Regions from separate parts of the Homo sapiens genome. Here region 2 is linked to region 1. Evidence: promoter capture Hi-C in human tissues and cell types (Jung and others, 2019). All regions are on one chromosome and are shown on one strand. Each heading gives the region's core, a stretch centred on a gene start or on the middle of the fragment in contact. The rest is flanking DNA. Distances are from core to core; before and after follow the strand shown.

The links. The method cuts DNA at HindIII sites, captures the fragments that hold promoters and counts their contacts. A contact is called where the count stands out against the background at its distance.
Region 2: a contact is called between a fragment that was not itself captured here and the fragment with the promoter of ADCYAP1R1 in region 1, in 2 of the 25 tissues and cell types used here (dorsolateral prefrontal cortex and spleen).

What each region holds. Positions count from the first base shown.
Region 1 is chr7:31,050,353-31,054,692 of GRCh38, reverse strand. It overlaps ADCYAP1R1 (ADCYAP receptor type I), which reads right to left and starts at 2,385. Exons shown (of 16, transcript NM_001118.5): 1 at 2,015-2,385. The HindIII fragment of the contact is 8,235 bases long and covers 1-4,340 here.
Region 2 is chr7:31,104,254-31,108,539 of GRCh38, reverse strand. It overlaps ADCYAP1R1 (ADCYAP receptor type I), which reads right to left. Exons shown (of 16, transcript NM_001118.5): 15 at 3,631-3,672; 16 at 1-2,044. The coding sequence ends at 1,856. Among named protein-coding and RNA genes, the nearest start is that of ADCYAP1R1, 54 kb to the right of the region's middle. RefSeq lists an enhancer at 1,684-2,479. The HindIII fragment of the contact is 5,427 bases long and covers 1-4,084 here.

The DNA.
Region 1 (4,340 bases), core at 1,136-3,635:
ACTTAATCAGTGCCAGCCCCAGGTCAATGAAATGCTTGTCCCTGGGAGGGCGGCAACCTGGGACACTCCAGCTTAAGCCCTGTCCCCAAGAGAAAAGCCACCCTGTGGCCTTAGCTTTCCTAGCCTCTCAGCCACATATACTATAAACTCCCATGTGTGTATTTATTTATTCGACACAAATTGAGGGAGTGTCCCAAAGTTGACGCACAACAGAGAGAGGTGGCCATGTGAAAAGCCATGGGTCCCAAAGTGTTTCTCCAATCAATCCCCTGCCAGCCTGAACCTTATACAAAACAGGACTTAATGCACCCCTTAGCTTAGATCAGTCCCGAGAGTGCAGGAGAGGGATCCTTTCAGAGGCTCCCCACAGACACCTCCCCTCACCACACATGGGGACAAACAGACTTTTGGGGGTCTTGTCCCAGACACCCAACCACCCATGAACCACCCATGGCCAAAGAGGAAAAGTATCAGGCCCGCCTCCATCGTCACCCCACACACACTTGTTGATGGATCAGTTGGAAGAGCTGGCCCAGGGCCTGCTCAGCGTGTTCCACCTCCAATCTGTATGTTCAGATTTCGGCTTGTGTCCAAGCTGGTGCCTCTGCCTGCCCTCCCCAAGGTCAGTGAGGAGCAGAACTTAGCTTAGGACTGGGGACTCCACCAGTGCTACTTGTACCCAGCACCAAACTCATTTAATTGGGGTCTCCTGAGAAAACCTGGGTGCTGCCTGCTGCCCCTGCCCCCAAAGGCTCAAACATAGTTTTCCATCTGCTTGGGAATCCTACCGCCACTCAAAGCTTCTAGCTTGACCTTCAGGATGCTTGTCTGCCTCTGGCCAGCTGCAGTCCCAGGGCAAGTTGCCCTCCACATGCTGCGTCCAGCCCCTTCCCATCCCCCAACTCCTCCCCAGGGCCGCTCATGGGAAGAGCCAAATGCTGTGTCTTGGAGAGGGCCAGGGGGGCTTTGCGGGACATTGTAAGGCTGGGGAAGATAAAGGGAGTCTGACGCACCTGCACTCAAAAACATAAAAATGGTCGGAAGAATTAGCAGGTGTCCACCACCCCACCCCCATCTTCCAAAAAGGGGCTGAGCTCCATCCAGGGGTGAGGCTCCCCTCCTCAGCTCCACGTGAAATGCAATCGGCTTCCGGCTGGGTTCCCTCCTGAGGGTCTAGTTGCATCCATCGGCTCCCCTGTCCCTTCTGAGCCCCCTAACCTGCCAAGGTCCCGCCGAGGATGTGGCCTCCGCCCCCCGCAGCCGCCGCAGGAGCTTCTGCCTCTAAAGCGGCAGGCAGGGGTCTCAGCGGGCCCACTTCAACCTGGGAAGGCCGGTGCGTTTCCCCACAGACCCCGCAGGGCGTTTCTTCTGGGGACCACTGAAGCCCTGGCATCCCCAACCCCAGCCCCTCCGCGCCACGGGAAACGAAGACGACACTCTTTTGAACAATCCCGGATGTGTCACCACAGAGGGGCATTCTACACTGGCCCCTACCCCAACCCCCACCTAGCACATTGCTTGCCCACCCCTCAAACCCCGTGCGGATTGCGGTACCTAGCCCCGGGGGACCCTCCAGCCCTGCCTTCCCGATCCGCGTAGGTGCGTCCGTCCACCTAAGGGTAGGGAGGCATGTCCCTCCGGGTCCCTCCGGCCGCATGGCTTGCCTGCCCCCCTGGTCTCCCTTCTCCGCATCAGGAGGGGCGTGAGATAGCTAGGTCGACCCCCACCCCGGCAGTCTGCGGCGATCGGCCGCCCCGAGCGCAGCGCCAGACACTTGGGTTGGGGGGTGTCAGCCTGACGCGCAGGAAGGGCGCAGCGGCGGGAGGGGGCTTCATTTCAGATCTGGGAGGCTTGCCTGGCGCCGGCCCTCGCCCGCTCTCCGTCGGTGGAGGTCGCGGCTGGCGGAGACCGCCAAGCCAGAGGAGGGGATCCGAGGTCCCGGCTGGGCGAAGGTTCTGGAGGGGGAGAAGACGGCCGAGGCGTGGAGGGGCAGCCGCGGCGGGGCGACCCTTACCTGCTCACTGCGGGGCCTGTCCGTGGGGCCGGGGCAGACTCCGCAAAGGACGCGCAGCCTGCAAGTCCGCGGCCCGCGCGGCGCGGGGATGGGGAGCGTGTGCGCCGAGGAGCGCGCGCCGAGCCGGGTCTCCGCGCCTGTGTGGCCGGCTGGCGGCCGGGGTCCGTGTGTCCCTGCGCGGCGGCGTGTGCGTGTGCGCACGCGGGGACCACGCTCGCCCGGAGCCGCCGCCGCCGCCGTCACTCCCTGCCCGGGGCCGAGCGCAGCGCCCCCTTTGCCCGCCCCGCGCGGCGCGGCAGTCCAGCTTGGCTCCGTCCTGCGGGAGAGGCGCCGCCTCCGCCGCGAAGCCAGGCTGGGCGCTGGAGGGAGGCGACCGACCACCGCCTCCCCCTGCTCACTTCACAGGCTGGGGAGGGGGTGCTGCAGGCCAATGAGCGCCCGGGGGCGGGGTTAGATCGAGGGCGGTGCGGTGGGGGGCGCGGTGGGGGGCGCCGGGCTGCTCAACCCGACCCCACCCGCAGCACAGACTGGAGCAGGAGCTGCGGCGGGAAATCCCAGCGGCGGGGGTCGGGGGCGCTGAGGTGGAGCCCTCAGCCCCCTGTCATCCCCGTCTCCTCTGACTCTGGGCCTCCTGGGCTCACCACCCTCTTTCCAGTCTCTCCATCATAGCCAGGACTAGAAAGCCTTCTTTCTTCTCCCTAGGTCCTCAAGATTTCCTGTGTATCAGAGCCTGTCTTCCCTCTCCTCCAAGAAGCCTTCCTTACCAGGCAAGTCTCAGACCCTCCTTGGGCTCTTCTTTGCCCCTACCGCCCAGGCCTGGGAGGGTCAGCTAGTTTTGGGGTGCCTGTCGGGATGTCCTCCAATGTGACCCCCCCGCCCCCGGAGAAAGACCAGGAAGGGGATGGTGGTGCTTACAGGACAGAGGCAACTTAAAATATCAGACTGCCTGGCTCCAGTCCCTGCTGTGCCACAGCTCTGTGAGCTTGGGTAAGTGGCTCAGCCTCTCTGAGCTTCAGCTTCTTCATCTGCACAAGGGAACAATAGTACCGGCCCCCAGGTCTCTTCACAGCAGCATTAAATAAAAATGGTACACTCACCCCATAGTAGTTTCTCCCTGGTATCATTGATTCGCCGATGCTGAATAAATTACTATTGCTACTGTTATTACAGTCCTGTCCAACCTCCTCCTAGTGCAAATGGCTTAATAAGGAGAACTACACAGGTAAAGGTGGCCTAGCGGGTTGGCAGCGAAGCCCAAACTTAACTGAGAGTAGTTAGTTACCCACTCCCAGGCAAGTTCTCACCCTCTGCCCACCCCACCCAGCCCCCATCCCACAGCTGCTCCTGCCTGCCTCTGCTCTCGGTTTTTGGTCCCTGCCTCAGGCGTCAGTCTCTGAGAGCTCTCAGTTCTGCAGCCAGGCTCTGTTCTTGCCCATTCAAGTAAATTCTCGCTCAGCTTCCCTTTGGGTCCAAGTTCTAGGTATGGCCACCTTGTCCAGGAGGCCTCAAGAAGGGGGAAGGAGGAGGGAGAGCCTTGAGCCTTCCTTTGGGGTCGCCAGTCTACCAAAGAGGAAAGGACCTGTGGATGGAGAGGAATCCATATGGAAACTTGAAAGAAGCAATCTGAGGGCCCAGAAAGACGCGTGGAGGTTCCTAGGTCCATGTTTCTCTTTACTGACCAATGACCGCTGACCCCCATTGACACAACACACTGGTAGTCTGATTGGTTCATGTTCCTTTCAGTCCAGGAGAGCTTCCTGGTGGAGGAGAATATCAGTCTTATCTATATCAAGAAAGAATGAAGAGAAAGGAGAGAAGAAATAATGGAGAGAAAAGGGCCAGGTGCTGTGCTAAAATCAGACACAGACAGGACCTCCCTTTAATCCTGGCTAACCCCTTCTTAGCTTGTTGCCCTAACCCCTGAGAGCTGAGAGCCGCTTTCTTCATCTGCCTCCAACTCTGGTGTTGTGAAGATCAAATGAGATGATGTGTATAAAAACTCTCTATAAACTGTGAAACTAAGTGTGAGGGAAAGGAGGCTGCCAGGAGTCTCAGAGTCAAGAGGGACTCAGAGTGCAGGACGTAGAGGGCCTGGGAGTGAGAGGAAGGGTGAAGATCAAGGTCATCTATGGCAGACCAGCCCATCCTGGGAATGTGGATGGCCAGGCTTCCAGATAGAGGCCCCCCTACTTTGAAGTTCAGCACTCAGTTCCAGATTTATTCTCTTTCCGTACTCTTGGTTCTCCAGTTTCCACTGCGGGTTCCAGATCCCCTGGAAGGGGCCAGTGGGGCTGGAAATCCAGATCCTGCTCTACCCACTGCCCAC
Region 2 (4,286 bases), core at 122-2,621, 55 kb before region 1:
CCTGAACCCTAGGCCATGGCTCCTTCCAAGCAGCCCAGACCCCCTAGCAGTGCCCAAAATGCAAGATGTCCACAGGACCCTTGCTTCAGTAATGCACACCAGTGCAGGTGGAGGGGATCATGAGGTCAGGTGCAGGGTAGAAGGGCCACTGCACACTCCAAGATCAATCTGAGTCACCAAGCATGCCCAGGAAAGGGCAGGTAGCTCCTTTCTTCCTCTGGCTTTGCCAAAGATCCAGGAACTTACTTGACTGGCCAAGGACACAGAGCTCCTCTCTAAATTACAGCAACAAGAGCCTTTTCCAGCCACTCTGAAAGCCTCTCCAGAAACATTTTCCCAAGTCTCCCAGGCCCCTTCCTCTTTATAAAATGAAGTAACATCCTCCTCCACCCAAAGTCCCCAAGCATTCCAGAGCATCATCATGAAACAAGTCTGCAAACAGAATTTGGACAGGAGTAACACCAAATGCTGACATGGAATGAGCTAGGCCACACACGGACCATGTACTCTAGCACTTTCCTCTACCTCCCCAGCTGGGCACTGCCCTATTTTACATTCTCAGGCTGAGGGTGTGCAACCTGCAGCTGGGGAGCCAGGGCGGGTGGTAGGGAGCAGCTGCCACATCAGCAGCAGCCTCTGCTAATGGGCATGTTGGGTGTGGCTTCTCCCGACACCCCAGCAGCCCATGGTGAGTCAAGGTCAAGGGCATAAAAGGGACATCTTTGCAGAGGTCTCAGAGAGATTTCAATAGTTGAGTCCAGGCCAGAGGAGCTGGTGTCTGGGGCTCCTCATCATCCATGGGAGTGGGGGTCGGGCAGCCCTGGGCCCCAGATTCGGGTGCAGGTGCTTCAGGATTCGCCGACATCAGAGGCAGGTGGCTGGTACATCCTAGTCATGGCTTTGACTTAGGGGAAATGGGGAGGGGAGGGCTTAAGGGCTCTCTGTGGTGTGCATGGTTGGAGACAGCTTCTGGAAGGCATCCATGAGGGTGGAAGAGGTGGAAGGGAGATGACCAGAAGAACCCTGTCCATCTTGAGCTGGGGGTAAAACAATGGAGATGGCGAAGGTTTTCTTCCATGGGTCTCCCAAACTCCGTCTCTTTCGCAATCACAGCCACATTTCTGGCTCTCAGCTCCTTTTGGATCAAACGAAAAGCACCAGAACCTTCCCTGACCTGCAGACTCCCCACCCAAACTGAAGTCTCTGATGAGAAGAGCCTGGGAGCTGTCCCACTGCCCTGGGACCCAGGAGCTGAGCACCCGGACACCAAGATGCCAGGCGAGTGCCAGGAGGCCTGCACCAAGGGGTGTTCTGGCCACCCGAGCTGGCCCTCTGCTAGGCTTCAGGGACTTGGGCCCAGGACTGAGAAGAGCCCCAGGGTGGCATGCACACTCGAGGGGTCACACCCAAAATCAGATGATGGGGGGCTGTTGGGGCAGGTACCACCCCAGCTCCCACAGGCAAGGTCTCTTCAGCCTTAGCTCACAAGGCCTCACAGCTGGGGTCAGGCCATCACTGAGGCTGACCAAGAAACAGTGGGGTGGAGCTGAGACCTGACTGGAAGTGAGCAGGGACACTGGGGCAAAGGGGGAAGGGATGGGACAACTTTTCCAAATTTGAGGAGTATTTACATGTCTGGGGTCAGGGCCCAGGGGACCACAGTGGGTGGGACCAGTACCAAAACAAGGAGGGGACAATTCCAGTCTGTGCCCTGCCTCCTTCTCCCCCCTCAGGAGCCAAGCTTCCAGCCCAGGGCCTGCCCAAGGGGAGGGAAGAGGCGCAAACATGCGTGGGCTGGCACCTGCCTGCGGTCCCAGCCTGTGGATGGAGGAGAGGAGGAGGAGGGGAGCATGGCTCAGGTGGCCAGATTGTCAGCAGGGAGGCCAGACATGCGGATTTGGGAGCTGCTCTTGCTCAGGATGGAGAGCTGGGTGCCCCCATTCACCCCACTGCTGGCCAGAGACGGGTGTCGGTGCTTGAAGTCCACAGCGAAGTAACGGTTCACCTTCCAGCTTCGCCATTTTCGCTTGATCTCCGCTTGTACCTGCAGGGAGCAAACTGGGCGGTCACTTCCAGATGGACATCCTCTGCAGCCTCCAGGCCCTGTCCTGGCCTGGGGCCCTTCCCAGGCTGGCAGTGCCACCCTCAGCACCCTCCCCACTCCCCAGTTGCAGCCTGCGGCCCTCAAGGTCTCCAGTGGGGGCTTTTAGCAGCTGTAGGCAAGGAAGCCTCTGAGGAGCTGACCGGAACAGCCCCTTCCCTTGCCACTTTCTGAGCAAGGCCCTCTAATGGCTCCCTGTTGTTTTCAGGCCAGGCAGAGAATAGTCCATTGGGTCCTTCAGGAAATCTTTAACAAGCAGTCCCACAGGGCAGGTGGATCAGGAAAGGATCCCCACTCTTGGCTGACCAGTAAGAGTGGGCTACACATTAGAATTACCTGGGGGGCTTTAAAAATTCCAGATGCCCAGGCCATACCCCAGAACAATTATATCAAAAGTTCTGCACAAGACCCAGACATCATATTTTTTAAAGCTTCCCAGTCAGGGTTGAGAACCATTAAATAATGCACCCCTCTGGGAAAACACACACCCATGTAGCTCTTAGCATGGTGAGTGGGGGCCATGCTGAGTCTCAGCCTCCATGTGCCTTCTCAGTCAAGCACCTTCGTGCAGTGCACAGACTGCACAACTGGAAGCAGCGCCTACACCCACCCTCTCCAGTTCCAGCTCCTACTTTCACTGCAAGCTCTGAACAAGCTACATACATGCCCACTTCTAAGCTCTCCTGGCCACTACCTGCAGGGCCCTTTCTGCCTCTCTTGTCTGTCCTAATCTGATCCTTCTGTAGGTTGTCTGGGCGATCACAGAGCCCAATCTCTGTTGCTCAGATGCAAAAGAGGGAGGAGCCTGCCAAGGTGATGCAGCTAAGACCCAAGCACTGGTGCAAAGACTCCCGCCTACTCTCAAATCCACCCTAGCCATTCAGTCCCCACCGCTGCCCCAGCACCTCTGTTTTGGGTTGTGCTCAAGCGCTTTACCCCAATAGGGTACAGAGGGAGCCCCCGAACCACAGCTCTGGCAATGGAGTATTAATAGAAGGTTCCAGGTCTCTCCCTGGGGTCTCTTCCAAATTCTCACAGTCTCCCTTCTACCAGGGGACAGTTTGGGCCAGGCTGGCTGGCCAGTTAAGGGCAACCCTGAGTGCCAGGCAGCTCCTGGCTCAGCAGCTCTGCCTAGCACAGCCTCATGGCCTGTAGGTCCTATGTCCTGTGCCCCACCCTTCCTTATTGTCAATTCCTCCTCACCACGGAGTGTCTTATGGAGAGGACCCTCCCAGGGAGATCTGCGCTCAGCAGAGCCGACGCTTTTACCAGGAGCTTTGCTCTTTGGGTGGGGCCTTAGCTGCACAGCTGGCAAAGTGGGACAGATTCCAGCACAGGGTGTGGGTATCAGGAGGTCCTGGCACCACACAATGCCAGGAGCTGTATGACCAGCCCCTCCTCTCAGTGCTGGGAGCCTGGCAGAGCCCTCTCTGAAGAGTCAGTCCCATGTGGCCAACAGGTGGTTCCCCTGTCTGCTCCCCAGAAAGCCCCACTTCCACTGCCAAGAAGCCAGAGGGCCAAGGTCTTACCTCACCATTCAGAAAACAGTAGAGAACAGCCACCACAAAGCCCTGGGAATAGAGAAAATAAGCCTGAGGATGCTAGCAAAGGACTTTCTGAAATGCTGTGTGGGGCATGGAGGGGATGACTCTAGGAAGCAGAAATACACCATGACCTGGATGGGGGCACCTGCCCAGGGATCTGGGGTAAGATGGGACAGTTCTACTCTACCAAGATGGGCACACCCATGAGGCCACGTGGCTGGTGGTCAAGTCCTGTCCCACAGATACATTCTAGCTTTGGATCTCACATTCCCTTGGTCAGATCCTTCCCATTCCCAAAGGCCAGCTCTATCCCACTTCCTATAAGAAGCCTTCCCTGAATGCCCTAGAATTTCTCTTAGCTCCTAACCATCCTGCAGGCTTCTGAGGGTAGGAACCCTCCAGGACAGAACAGACCTGTGCCATCCTTGTCCACCATCATCTCCCCAATCTGCCCTCCTTGGGCCAGATACTATCATACACAGCAATGCAGAACACCACGCAGAGCGAGTACTTGGCACAGCGTATGCACTTAGCTATTCTCTATATATTCTTTAAATCCACACCAAAAAAGCAGGAGCATTTTCTTGAATGCTGCAAATTAGTTCCTTGCAATCCCTGTGCCCTGTGCTGTCGTTTGAAGG